Linked DNA regions of Homo sapiens: all the other regions are linked to region 1. The links are contacts of gene promoters, found by promoter capture Hi-C in blood cells and fetal thymus (Javierre and others, 2016). All regions are on one chromosome and are shown on one strand. The core of a region is centred on a gene start or on the middle of the fragment in contact, and the rest is flanking DNA. Distances in the headings are between cores, read along the strand shown. Region 1 holds the start of LTBP3 (latent transforming growth factor beta binding protein 3). Region 2 overlaps DPF2 (double PHD fingers 2). Region 3 overlaps TIGD3 (tigger transposable element derived 3).

The links. The method cuts DNA at HindIII sites, captures the fragments that hold promoters and counts their contacts. A CHiCAGO score of 5 or more calls a contact.
Region 2: a contact is called between a fragment that was not itself captured here and the fragment with the promoter of LTBP3 in region 1, in 1 of 17 cell types (monocytes). The highest score is 6.5, in monocytes.
Region 3: a contact is called between a fragment that was not itself captured here and the fragment with the promoter of LTBP3 in region 1, in 5 of 17 cell types (endothelial precursors, monocytes, neutrophils and 2 more). The highest score is 10.4, in endothelial precursors.

Annotation. Positions count from the first base shown.
Region 1 is chr11:65,555,612-65,560,222 of GRCh38, reverse strand. LTBP3 (latent transforming growth factor beta binding protein 3) reads left to right here and starts at 1,864. Exons shown (of 28, transcript NM_001130144.3): 1 at 1,864-2,594. The coding sequence starts at 2,264. RefSeq lists silencers at 1,586-1,745, 1,796-2,035. The HindIII fragment of the contact is 7,741 bases long and covers 1-2,807 here.
Region 2 is chr11:65,336,812-65,341,422 of GRCh38, reverse strand. DPF2 (double PHD fingers 2) reads right to left here. Exons shown (of 11, transcript NM_006268.5): 2 at 878-1,038; 3 at 350-457; 4 at 1-24. Among named protein-coding and RNA genes, the nearest start is that of DPF2, 5.3 kb to the right of the region's middle. RefSeq lists an enhancer at 3,981-4,481. The HindIII fragment of the contact is 1,229 bases long and covers 636-1,864 here.
Region 3 is chr11:65,355,764-65,360,374 of GRCh38, reverse strand. It overlaps TIGD3 (tigger transposable element derived 3), which reads right to left. Exons shown (of 2, transcript NM_145719.3): 2 at 2,762-4,582. The coding sequence starts at 4,566. The coding sequence ends at 3,151. Among named protein-coding and RNA genes, the nearest start is that of TIGD3, 3.3 kb to the right of the region's middle. The HindIII fragment of the contact is 4,312 bases long and covers 233-4,544 here.

The DNA.
Region 1 (4,611 bases), core at 615-3,114:
CCACAGGTGTGACTCACTCCTACTCATCTTCCAGCTTCCGATGGAAGACTCTCTTTGTCTCCCAGGTCCCAGCCCTCTCCTGTCCTGCTTCCCTGCCCTTCTCTGTCACGGTACCAGCCTCTGTTGTAGCCACAGTTCTGTGTGAATTGATCTGGCACATATCCAGCTCTCCTAGTACAGCAGCTCCAGGAAGGCAGGACTGGTTCTATTTGTGGCCAAGAGCTTAGGATGTGGTGGAGTCTCAGTTTGTTGAGTGAATTTTTTACATTTATTTTTTAATTTTTTGTTTTTTATTACCAGTAGTTGAACATAGATGTTGAGTGAATAGATACCCATCTCACAAGCAAGGAAACTGGGGCTTAGAGACAGTAAGAATCCAACCCTGGACTGTTTGACTGTGCTGTGCTCCATGGTGAGCCACAGCCAGCTCTAGGCAGAGTCAGGACAGGTTCAGATGAGTGTTAGGAAAAAATGAGTATACAATGCTCAGCCCTGTGCCTGGCAGGTGGTCGGCACCTAGCATTATTCCCTGCCTCCGTGTGGACCAGGGCCCCAAGAAGCAGGGGCTTGCCCCTCACACCCCATCCTGGATTCCGGCAGCAGGGATCCCTGGGGACATGTGATTGTCCCTCCCAGCCCTGCACCGCTTAGTAAGGGGGACTTACTAAGCGTCCCCCTAAAGCTACCCACATCAACTTACGCTCAAAGTAAAAACAGAGTTCCTTGGACAGGTGTGCCTGAAAGTGAGTCCCTGAACCTCCTCTCCCCAATTAGACTGCTGCCCCGGGTGCTGTCCGGGAGAGGGTCTGGTGCCGCCCTGACTTGGCAGCGCTTTTCCTGGATGTGCCCTAGCCGTCCCCACCTCCTGCTGAGTTCTGTGAGTCAGAGACGGAACCCTGGGGTCTCCTGGCAGGCCCCACAGTAAGGCCTGGGCCCCCGCACGTTGCAGCCTTTCCTTCCAGACCAGCGGACAAGCCTGGTCTGGAACTATGCTCCTCTCCAGCCATGGCCAACCTGAAGACCCCCACCCCCAGCCGCTGCCAGCCCCTGCCCTGGGGCTCTGCTGTGCCCCTCTCCAGCCCCTGGGCCCTCGGACAGCGCCCCCGTCCTCCCGGCTGTTAGCCTGGGAAGGGGGCCAGGCCCTGAGCTCAGACCTTGGCGATTCCAGAGTGTCTGAGGCCCAGAGCCAGCCCCGCCAGCACGGCCAGACGAAAGGAAAGGGGGGAGGTGGCAGGGTGGGCACCAGGAAGCCATTCCGAGGGGGCTGGCAGGGAAGCTGGGTTCTAGCTTTGTTCTTTCTGCTCCTCTTCTGGACCCCACAGACTTCCTCCTGGGACCTCCGTGAGCCCTGGCCAAAGGCTGTCCCCACCCTTTAGCCCTTTCCTCAGAGGGGATTGGACCAGCACTAACGAGAAGTTACTTTGGGGCCCTGAGACCCCCACGTTTGCAAGGGAGGCTGGGAAAGAGCTGGAAGGCCTGGGCTCCGGCTCCACCCGGCCTCCATCGTCAGTGTGACCCGGCAGGGCCACCTCTCTCCCTCAGCCTCGGTATCTCGCTCTACGCAGGCCTCCCCGCCCCGCCCCGCCCGGAGGAATCCGCGGCCGGCCAGACGGTCCCAGGTGAGGGCCCTCTGGAAAGGGCCCAGCGCGGCCGCGGGTTCCGGCGGGGGCGGGCATCTGGGGTGGGGACTGTCCCCGCGCCACCCCCCAGCCTCCGCCAGCCTGCACACCCTCGCTTCTCCAGGCGGCAGAGGCGACGCTTTAAACAACAAAAAAAAAAAAACTGTGTCCCTGGCCCGGGGCCAGCGTCCCAGCCCCCCTCGCCGCCGCCGCGCCGCGCTCCAGCCAGGGAAAACAACTGCTCACTTCTCCCTGAGCCCTCCCCGCGCGCTCCCTGCCTCCCCGCGGCCGCGGGAGAGGAGCCCGGCCAGGGGGAGGCGCGGAGCGGGCCGGCCGCCCGGCCTTCCTCTCCCTCGCTCCTCCTCTCCGCCTCAACTTGCTCCGGCCTCCTCGCTCCTGCCTGAGTTCGGGGCCTGGTCTGGGCTTCGTCCTGGGGCTGGGAAGTTTCTGCGCTCCCCGCTGTCCAGTCTGCATCTCCGCGCCTCCCGCCGGGCCCCCGCGGTCCCCTCCCGCCCGCTTCCCCCGCTGCCCTCCCTCGCTGCCCCCTACCCTCTCCCGGGGCTCCCGGCCCTCTACTCCCTTCGGGCGCGGGCCCCTCGCCCCGCCCGGGCGCGCCCCCCCTCCCCCGGGTCCTGCGGCCCCGGATGCCCGGGCCCCGAGGGGCTGCTGGCGGCCTGGCCCCTGAGATGCGCGGGGCGGGGGCGGCGGGGCTGCTGGCGCTGCTGCTGCTGCTGCTGCTGCTGCTGCTGGGCCTGGGCGGCAGGGTCGAGGGGGGGCCGGCCGGCGAGCGGGGCGCAGGCGGGGGCGGGGCGCTGGCCCGCGAGCGCTTCAAGGTGGTCTTTGCGCCGGTGATCTGCAAGCGGACCTGTCTCAAGGGCCAGTGTCGGGACAGTTGTCAGCAGGGCTCCAACATGACGCTCATCGGAGAGAACGGCCACAGCACAGACACGCTCACGGGCTCCGGCTTCCGCGTGGGTGAGGGCCGGGGGCACGGCTGGGGGCAGGGGAAGGACAGGCACCAGGCCCGGTGGGAGAGCTAGTGGGGTCTTGGCCTTAGAGACTGGGGGCTGAGGGTATAAAGGGCAGAGATCCGAGGGCCTGGGGGACCAGGGGCCTCAGGGAACTTGGGAGGCTGGAACTCTGGGGGCCAGAGTTGGAGGGCTGCATGGAGGCCTGGACTTTGAAGCTTTGCGTTAGGGTTGGGGCCTAAGGGGTGGGGAAATGCAGAGGTCCTGGATGACACTGGCTTCCCAGAAGGTGCTGAGTTCTGAGCAGGAGCACACAGGGTTTTTGAGGAATGTGAGCCGGGGACAGGAAGCCTCAGAGAAGGGCTAAATATTCCCGCAAGAAGCAGACTTGCTGGAAGAAACAAGAAAAGTCTTTACAAAATGTCTAAAGTAGGGCCTGCCAGAGTAGACACCTGCATTCCCTGGGAGGAGGAGCTAAGGTCAGGGCTGGGGATGGGAGCCGGCTACTGGCAAGGTCTGAGTAGGGAGGGTGTTGAGGCCTAAAAGTAGGGTGCAGGCCTGAAGGTAGGGACTAGTTCGGGGTTCTCAGCCTCTCCTTTTCCAATGCCTCCCCATAAGCTCCTAACATCCTGCCTCAGAGGCCCTCAGGGCCCCCCTCATCCTCCCCCAAGCCCCTACACCCTCCCCAGTTCAGCTTGGAGTCCACCCCCTCCCCAGCATCTCTCTTTAAAGGGCCAGGCCTGGGGCTCAGTCATCCTCCTGCTAGGCCCCGTGGGCCAGGCTCGGGGAGGTGTCCCAGCAGTAATTACCCTCCTGGACAGGGTAATTAGGCCAGGCCCAGGATGGCACCAGCAAAACAGCCCCTCTTACACATTCCTATATTCACTCTCCCACTCACAGAGCTAAGGAACCCCACTCATGTGGCTCAAATTTGTCATGAGATGGGGTGTGCGTGCGTGTGTCTGTGCGCATATTGCCCCTGTGTCTGGGGTCATGCCATGGGCATGGCGTGGCACACTGTGAAGTACCCGTCTTTGTGTTGTCTTGGGTGTGTGTCTCTAGTCGCTGTTAGAGAGTATGTGGGAATGTTTTTGTTTTTGTGTTTTTGAGATGGAGTTTTGCTCTTGTTACCCAGGCTGGAGTGCAATGGCGCAATCTCAGCTCACTGCAACCTCCCCCTTCTGGGTTCAAGTGATTCTCCTGCCTCAGCCTCCCAAGTAGCTGGGATTACAGGCATGCGCCACCACGCCTGGCCAATTTTTTTGTATTTAGTAGAGATGGAGTTTCACCATGTTGGTCAGCCTGGTCTCAAACTCCTGATCTCGAGTGATCTACCTGCCTCGGCCTCCCAAAGTGCTGGGATTACAGGTGTGAGCCACTGCGCCCGGCCAAATGTATGGGAATGTTTATGTGAACCTGTGTTGGTGTCAGGATGAGTCTCTGTGTGTGTGTGACAAGAGGACTGTGGGTGTGAGTGTACGTGTGTCCATCTCCCAGGCTCCCTGGCCATCCTGCCCAGGCTGCTGTCTCCATCTGTGCTGCCCACATCCCCCAGGCTCGGTGCCCAGGCCACAGTGGGCGGGTGTCATTGGGAGGTCACTCTCACCGCTATGAGTGACTCACTGGCAGAAAGGAAAAAGAGAATCCTACCTCCCCCCGCCCAGGACACACCCCTCTGCTCTGTGAGGCCTGGCCCCAAGAGGCCAGGCAGGATGGGCTGGGCTGGGATGTGCTTAGCCTGACCCTGAGGGCCATGGATATGGGCTGTCCCTGTGAGGCCCTTCTGGCATCCAGGAGAGCAGCACCCCCGCCCTCCTGCCCTCCTGCCCTGGGAAGTGAGGGCAGCCATGGGGTGGGCAGGAGAAGGGCTGGGGCTTTGGGATGAGTCAGAGCCCCAAGGCTGGTAGTAGCACAGGTTGAAGGTGAGTATGGGACAGAAACAGACAGAGGTCCCATCCTCTCCCTCAGTCATTCTTTCATTCATTCCCCCGAACCCCCTGTGGGACCCAGAGCTGAGGCCAGCC
Region 2 (4,611 bases), core at 1-2,500, 220 kb after region 1:
CCTTCTTCAGGGTCTGGTCTGTGTCTGCAAGCAAGGTCAGGATAAAGCAAGGCTCAAAAGGGCTGAAAGCAGACTGCTCTGAGTCCACATAATGCTGGGGCTTACCAAAGGTCTGTCACTATCTTTTGTTCTCTGCACGCCCAGGAATTAAGACACCCTAGTTCACTTGGCACCATAACTTATCTGTTTACCTGTCTCCCCTTCTAGACTGAGGTCCTTAAAGGAAAGAATCACATCATATTCATTTGAGTATATTTGGGATCTAGTACTGGGCCTGGTATATCACAGTGATTAGCAGGCTCTCACCATGCAGCAGGCCACGCCTCTGCTCAGGAAGTATGTGCCTTACCTGGCTTAATAGATGGGAAGGAAAGTCGTGGATCCTCAGGGGGATGGGCTCGCCGCTTTTTCCGCCAGCGCCGGGCAGGGTAGGAGTACAGCTGTCCGGAGGCCAATCCTGTGGCAGGAAGAAAGATAGAAGTCAGGCCCTAACCCAGTATTAGAAAGTAATACCAAACACTTTCTAATTAAGTAGGCCCCCCTTTGAGTTCTAGAGCAAGGGAGAAATTCTGACAGTGAGGGCCTAGGGGGTTAGGTGGAATAGTCTGTGGAAAAGAAAAATAGATATATAAGCTTCAGGGCCTTGGCTAACACATAGTTCTCCAGACACACAATGGCCTCAGCAGGGCAGAAAACAAAGATGCTGGTATCAAACATCTGCTTCATCCTCCCTGGGTTTCTAATCACAGGAAGACCATATTCATCCATAGGTGGAAGGCAGTAGGGAAAACCCTATCAACTGTCTCATCACCTAAGATGAGGAGGCTTCTTCCTCCTTATGCTCCTGAGTCCCCTTCTCCCAAGTCTGGACCCTCACCTGGACCCCGGTGTCGCTTTTCCATCCAGATGTAACAATTGCTCTGGGCTACTCCGGTCTGTGAGTCCAAGAAAGGCAGGCGCACGCTGCGCTCAGCACAGAGGCGAGCATTGTAATTGTGGCACTGCTCCATGGCATCTTTGTAGTACTGCTCCCCAAGGCTGCAGGGAAGATAGAAATCAGGCGTGTATGTTGGAGCGGGGGGCATAGGGTGCTGAGCTATTCCTCTCCCCTGCCATCTGCTTCTCTAGAAGGCTCAAGGGACTGGGTGGCTGTCTCTTCCGTTCTATTTGCCTCCACTTCTGCCTCATGGGACACGAAGCCCCTTTTCTAGGCCATCATGAGGAATTACTTTACAAATAAATTACCATCAGGAACACATGATTTCATCATATGTCTAATCAGACTTAAGTTTAACCCCCAAAGAGGTGAAAGAATGTTCACTCCACGTGTCTCACAAGCCCACCCCTGTGCTAGTTAAGATGCTATTTCTCTTAACCCTTATGAGGCTAAGAAGCAGATGATAGTCCCTCCTAAGTTCCTCCTTATTCCCTCTTTCCTAGAATCACCTCCCAAATAAACTACATGCTCCCACATCCTTGCCCCAAGGTCTGCTCCAGAGGGAAAGAGTTCAAAGTCTAGGGGACTTATTAAAATGTATTTAGCAAACTATGGTAAATCCATACAATGAAATTCTACTTAGCCATAAGAAGGAAGCTCTTCACATACTGATATTAAACAATTTCAAGTTAACTAGGGACAAAAAGCAAAGCAAGGTACACTGCTGAGAAGCGTCAAATAAAACTATCATTTATGTAACAAAATGGAAAAGAAACTGCAGGTCAGCGGGGAGAAAAAGTGGGTGACTAGGCCACTTCCTTCCATATGCCTTTTTATATCTTTTGAATTTTGAACTAGGTTTTTAATCAACTAATTAATTTTACATTTATGGAAGATGTCTACAAGTACCTGAAGTTCCTTGAAGCTTTTATTGAGCACCATCACTCATAAGAAACTTGTTTGCTCTAAGGCCCATCTTAGGGTTCTTCTCCATTCTCACAAAATAAAATTATATAGGAAAAAATCTTCTTGGTCTCAAAAGACTCAATTTGAAATCTGAATCAAGGGTAAATCTTTAAGTGGAAAACTGGAAAACTGCACAGTGCCAGGAGTTATCTGGTTCTAAGAAGCGTGTATATAGAACCTATCTTGTTCTCATCTTGCAGGGTTTAACAAGGACTTTGGTAATGGAGGTTAACAAACTCGATCTTATATTCAATCAATCTTGTTTTTTTTTTTTTTTAAGAGACAAGGTCTCACTATGTTGCCCAAGCTGGACACAAACTCCTGGCTCAAGTGATCCTCCTGCCTTAGCCTCCCAAGTATCTGGGAATAGAGGCATGTGTCACAGTACCTGGCGTCAATCAATCTTAAACCAAGGGCAGAATTGATTTATTTCTCATAGTATCCCTAATACTCATGACGATGTCTGAGATACAGTCAGACTTGACTTGAGAGTAAAAAGACCTGGCTTGCCTGCAAGTCACACGAACATGGACACTTAGTCAGCCCAGGTGGACCTTGGTTACTCTTCTATAGATTGAGGAGGTTGGACCAAATGAGCTTTGACATATCAGGATTTTACAAGAAACAGCCTGGGGATGAGACAGCAAACAGATTAAGTCTCTGTGGTTTCTGTCCGTAACTCGGGCTACACCAACAAACCCTGCTCTAGAATGTGACAGGGTCCTTCAGTGAGCAGCCACAATAGACCACTGCATAACTTAGCATGTGCCCAGCAAGTAAAAAAGACACATACGACACACAGAGACGGCAATGCCACAAATATAGCCTGGCGTGATTCAATGAGCTGTAATGACTGTAATCTGAGGTAGGCACGAATCTCACGTTGGAGAGCAGAATGGAGAAGGCAGCCTTGCCTCTGTGGGCTCGCCTTTAGGAGGCAGCCACGTCTTCACCACACAGAATAAAATTGGATAAACAAGGTTGAGTGCGGCAGCTCCTTTGTTTCTGCTGATGGGAATTGATACGGACACTGGAAGTCAAATGGAAGGCAGGGCCAGGCTGGCGAGTGCTGCAAAGTCAGAGCAAGGAGGCTGGAAACAGTTTTGCGGGGAATGAATGAGAGATGTTCTGTCAGGGCTCTTGTGAGCTACATAAGGCAGGCAAACAGTCTTGGGGGTAAAAGGGCTGGGAAGGAAACACTGAAGTGTGGGGGGAGAATCTCATGAAGAGAGAACAAGACAGCATGACAGTGAGCTCTTAAGAACTTAAGGGAGGCCGGGCACAGTAGCTCATGCTTATAATCCCAGCACTTTGGGAGGCCAAGGCTGGTGGATCTCTTGAGACCAAGAGTTAGAGACCAGCTTGGGCAACATAGTGAGATCCCATCTCTACAAAACGTTAAAAAATAAAAATAAAAAAGGCCTGGCGCAGTGGCTCACGCCTGTAATCCCAGCACTTTGGGAGACTGAGGTGGACGGATCACCTGAGGTCAGGAGTTCGAGACCAGCCTCAACATGGAGAAACCCTGTCTCTACTAAAAATACAAAATTAGCCGGGCGTGGTGGTACATGACCATAATCCCAGCTACGGGGGAGGCTGAGGCAGAAGAATTGCTTGAACCTGGGAGGCGGAGGTTGCGGTGAGCCGAGATTGCGCCATTGCACTCCAGCCTGGGCAACAAGAGCGAAACTCTGTCTCAAAAAAAATAAAATTAAAAAAAACAAAACAAACAAACAAAAAAACCATCAGCTAGGCTTAGTGATGCATGCCTGTGGTTCCACGTAGCCCCTGGGGCGGATGAGGTAGGGGAATCATTTGAGCCTAGGAAGTTGAGGGTGCAGTAAACCAAGGTTATACCACTGCACTTCAGCCTGGGGGACAGAGGGAGGCTCTGTCTCTTAAAACAAAAAAAAGCAATAACAAAAACTTAAGGCTCCGATACCAAGAAATGTCAAGTTAACATTAACATTGTTCTCTCTCTCTCTCTCTCTCTCTCTCTCTCTCTCTCTCTCTCTATATATATATATATATATATATATATATATTTTTTTTTTTTTTTTTTTTTTTGAGATAGAGTCTTGCTTTGCCGCCCAGGTTAGAATGCAGTGGTGCAATCTCGGCTCACTGCAGCTTCTGCCTACTGCAGCTTCTGCCTCCCGGGTTCCAACGATTCTCTTGCCTCAGGCTCCCGAGTGGCATGCGCCACCACGCCCAGCTAATTTTTGTATTCTTAGTAGAGACAGGGTTTCACCATGTTGGCCAAGCTGGTCTCGAACTCCTGACCTCATGATCCGCCCACCTCGGCCTTCCAAAGTTCTGGGATTACAGGTGTAAGCCACCGCGCCCTGCCTCTAGATTTTGCCTAGAAAGTTTCAAAACCAATCAGCAGCTACAGCTATACTATTATTTTACTTTCCTAGTAAGAACGCTTAAAGACTTTCTCTCTTTTTTTGAGACGGAGTCTCGCTCTGTCGCCTGGGCTGGAGTGCAGTGGTGTGATCTCTCCTGGGTTCAAGCGATTCTTCTGCCTCAGCCTCCTGAGTAGCTGGGACTACAGGTGCACGCCACCATGCCCAGCTAATTTTTGTATTTTTACTAGAGACGGGTTTCACCACCTTGGCCAGGCTGGTCTCAAACTCCTGACCTTGTGATCCGCCCGCCTCAGCCTCCCAAAGTGCTGGGATTACAGGCATGAGCCACCGTGCCCG
Region 3 (4,611 bases), core at 1,139-3,638, 200 kb after region 1:
ATGAGATACATCAGAACTGGAAAGGTTTCAGAAAAGAACAATTTATATGAATTCAGGGTAGAAAAAATAGACTTCTGTGAGGAAAGGCTAAATGATTTGGGATCTCAGCCTAGAAAATGATAGGCCCGCAGGTGGCTTCATAAGTGTTTGAAAGGGAGTTGTTAGTTCGAGCTGCCAGGTGTGGAGTTGGTCAATTAGGACAACGAAGCAAGCTGAAAGTAACACAAAAGCTTCTTTTCATTCACTAAAACCTACAAGCAAGGGGCAAAAACAGGCCCCAGCTCCCCAGCGTTCCATTTTACAGAGCAGCACGGGACAAGGGTCAGACAGGAACAGTCTCATCGTCAAGGAGTTTCAGAATAAAAAGAATAAAAGCTCCTGCCTTTTTACAGACCTGACCTGAAGTGGGCTGTAGGGAGGCAGGGGAGAAGGGCTGAAATGAGAAGTACTGAGTCAAAGCGGAGAAAGGATAGAATGAGAGGTACTGCGTCAAAGCGGAGAAAGGATGGAATGAGAGGTATTGAGTCGAAGCGGAGAAAGGATCTCAGTCATTGCTCCCAGTAAGGAGGTCTTGGTAAAGGCTGTTGGAAACTGCCTCAGCCCAGGTCTCCAAATGGAGGTGCCCAGCTAGGAATGCAGGTGAGCTTAGGAACAGGGCAGTCTGGGGGCCTGGAGTCCTTGACTGCAACTCTCTCCGGAAACCTGCAATGCACAGGCGATGCACCAAGCTGGGGTGAGAGAGCAGCTTCCCTCCATGAGGACTGCCAGGCAAAAGTCTTGTGACTGCCAATGGTGAAGCCTGAAAGGTCACCCTTAGGATTTTGGCCTGGAGCCCGTATTTTTATTTTATTTATTCCTTTTTCAAGAGGGAGTCTCGCTCTGTCGCCCAGGCTGGAGTGCAGTGGCGCTATCTTGGCTCAGTGCAACCTCCACCTCCCAGTTCAAGCGATTCTCCTGCCTTAGCCTCCTGAGTAGCTGGGACTACAGGCGCTCGCCACCACACCTGGCTAGTTTTTGTATTTTTGATAGAGACGGGGTTTCACTATGTTGGCCAGGCTGGTCTTGAACTCCTGACCTCAGGTGATCCACCCGCCTCGGCCTCTCAAAATGCTGGGATTACAGGCGTGAGCCACCGTGCCCAGACAGTATTTTTATTTTATTTTTTTATTTTTGAGACGGAGTCTCATTCTGTCACCCAGGCTGGAGTGCAGTGGTGCGATCTCCGCTCACTGCAACCTCCGCCTCGTGGGTTCAAGCGATTCTACTGCCTCAGTCTTCCAAGTAGCTGGGATTACAGGTGTGTGCCACCACGCCTGGTTAATTTTTGTATTTTTAGTAGAGACAGAGTTTCATCATGTTGGCCAGGCTGCTCTTGAACTCCTGACCTAAAGTGATCCACCAGCCTCGGCCTCCCAAAGTGCTGGGATTACAGGCATGAGCCACTGTGCCCGGCCTGCAGCTTGTATTTTTACCAGCTAGAGTCTATCTGCGTCCAAAGCCCATATCCTTTCCAGGTAAAACCATTTTCTTTTCTTTTCTTTTTTTTTTTTTTTTGAGTGAGTTTCACTCTTGTTGCCCAAGCTGGAGTGCAGTGGCACCATCCTGGCTCACTGCAACCTCCACCTCCCGGGTTCAAGCGATTCTCCTGCCTCAGCCTCCTGAGAAGCTGGAATTACAGGCATGTGCCACCACGCCCGGCTAGTTTTTATATTTTTAGTAGAAATGGGGTTTCACCATGTTGGCCAGGCAGGTCTTATAAACTCTTGACCTCAGGTCATCCACCCACCTCGGCCTCCCAAAGTGCTGGGATTACAGGCGTGAGCCACCGCGCCCTGCTGGTAAACCATTTTCTTTACATCCTACTCCCAGGATCTGGCTCACGCTTCACCTTCTCTCACCTGGATCAGTCAGAGGCTCTCTGCCTCTAGGTTTCACATCTTTGACACACCCTACACAGACTCCGTTATTCTAGAACCCCAAGAATGACTTGTTCCTGCCTACCTAAAACCCTCTGATGGTGTCCTACCCCTAAGCCTGGTTGGCTAAAGGCCCTTCCTACTCTCCAGGTCTCTCCTTGTACTCTGCCCCTACCTCCGCAAGTATGCTATGCTCTGGCAGAACTGCCTGCCCCCGCCCCCAGCACACTGTGCTCCTTCACTCCAATCAGACTCTGCACACGCTGTCCCTTGGCCTGGGACGCCCTTCAAACTGCAGCTCAAAGCTCACCTCCCCCTGGAGTCTCCCTAGCTCTATGGGGCCAGGCACTTTGCACAGCCGTTATCACAGCCTTAATCACACTCCACTGTCATTGGCTGCAAGGTTCTGTCCAGAAGAGACATCATCTTTGCAACCTTGTTCACATAGGAGGTCTTGCTGAAGTGATGTTGTGAAATAAGCAAATGAAAAAAAAAAAAGAAAGAATGAATGACTATTCCATTCCAATTCCGGCTCCTTTCTGTTTCCCTGACATGTCCGTAGCCTGCCCAACCCCAAACACACACAATCTGAGAGCGAAACTATTGGAGCTGCAGCTTATCTGGGGCAGTAGCTGGGATCTGTCTGTCCTGGAGCTTCCCTCTCAGGAGGGTAGCCCACAAGCAGTGCCCACACCCTGAGAGTCCTTGCTGCTGAATATCTGGAAAAGGAGGATCCCTACTGGTCATGGACAGACAGCTGCACCGCAGTGACCATCAGCAATTAATTTTCCAAATCTGAATGGAAAATGTTTACCCTTCTCCCATGAAAATAACACCCTGGCCTCTTTTCTGATTAAAAACTTTATTTTCAGAAGCAGAACTGTTTTTAACACAAAGTTCAAGGAAGCAGTCTGTCCAAAAAGCCCAAATTCCACCTTTCTAAGTGGCTGCCTCTAGACTAACTCCCTTTCAAAGGCTCTAGAACTTTCAAGCAGGGTCTAGAAACTAAGCATCCTGGATTCCTACCCCCGAAGCCCCATCTTTAGAGCTCTCTTCCTGGGGTTTGGACGACTGCCACTCCAAGCTCAGACTTGGTGTCCCAACTTCTCTCCCTTCTACACCTTTACGACAGTTCTATTTCCACAGGAAAGAGACAGCCCGATCTGCCTTCTGAAGAGGCCGTTTCCATGGGAAACAAGAGAGGAAGGGGCTCTGGCAAGCAGTGAAGGCGCCTTCATAGGCAGCAAAGCCGCTCCACCTCCTCCTCACAGTCGTAGAATTTTTCGAATAGCTCAGGAGAAGTGCTGTTGCATTCAAACCACCTCCTCAAGGTGCCCAGGGCCCGGAGGGCATCAGCTTTGGTGGGCAGGGGCTCAAAGGCACCCTCTCTGTCCCCCTTCTCGTCTTCAGTGCCTATCTCCTCCTTACATACTCCAGACCTTGGCTCCTCACCCTCCAGGTCCACAAAGCGGGAAAACTCCTCCAGGCTCAGCCCGCCGGGGACTGGTGGCATCTCAGAGGTTTTGTGCGAGGACGGGGGCGTTTTGCCGGGAGCCAGCCCTTCTTGAATGAAGCTGCTGAAAATGAGCTGAGGAGGCACCTTGGCCCAGGCGGCAGACGCCACGTGCAGGGCGTCCAGCACGGTGATGCCTGCCCCGGCCTCGGCCAGCGAGGTGCCATCCCTCTCGCTTTGGATGGCAGCCAGTTTGCCCAACAGCCGGTGTCGGTAATGGGCCTTAAAGGCCCGGACCACTGAGCTGGGCAGGGGAGGCGTGGTGCTAGAGGCGGCCAGAGGCAAGAGCTTCACGTGGTAGAGCCCAGGCAGGCCTGCCAGCTCCTCCACCACTCGGGCAGCCAGCAGCAAAGCCACCTGTCGGCCCTGCTGTCCCATGTCCCGGTCAAACTGTGCCAACCACTCTAACCAGGGGATGCCCAGGTCCGGGTGGTAGGAGGCAGGCAGAGCCTCACTGCGGATCCCAAAGAAGCATCTCGGGGCAGCCTGGAGCCCACCCAGCAGTACCCGCCGCTTCTCGGTGCCCCTGCTGTTGGCACACAGCAGCACCTGTACTTGATCACATGCACCAAAGCTGCCGGGCACTGCCCGATACAGCAAGGGCAATTCAGCACAGCCAAACACGTCCTCTGGAGAGAAGTCTTTTAGGGAAAGAGGCAGCTGAGCCTGGGATGTGAGCCCCGGGGGAGGTGGCTCAGGGGGGAATGAAGGCGCAAGAACATGGCGGGCCCCAAAGCCGACGTTGTTTCGGCGTTTCCAGCGGACCAGCCAGCCGATGCTGGGCACGAAGTCCTGGCCCATGATATCGGCCAGCTCCTTGGCTTTGTGGAGCAGCATGGGCCCCGTCACGTCCCAGGCCTTGGCCCGGGCAATGTGGTACCAGCAGAGCAGAGCCTCGTCGATCCCGCTGTACTTGGACTCCCGCTTGCGCTTGCGCTCTCGGTTGGCTGTGCCGCTGCACCAGTCCGCCAGCAGCTTCTCCTTATTCTTGCAGATGCGCGAGATCTGGGGCTGGGAAACCTGGAAGCGCCGGGCCACCTCCGACTGGGACATCTTGGACTCATCCAGGAGTTCCAGCACCTGGATCTTCTCGGCCAGGGACAGGGCGTGAAGCTTCTTCTTGCTGCTCAGCTCCATGGCCTCTCCGGGGCACCTGTGCGGGGAGGAAAGATTGAGCGGGTA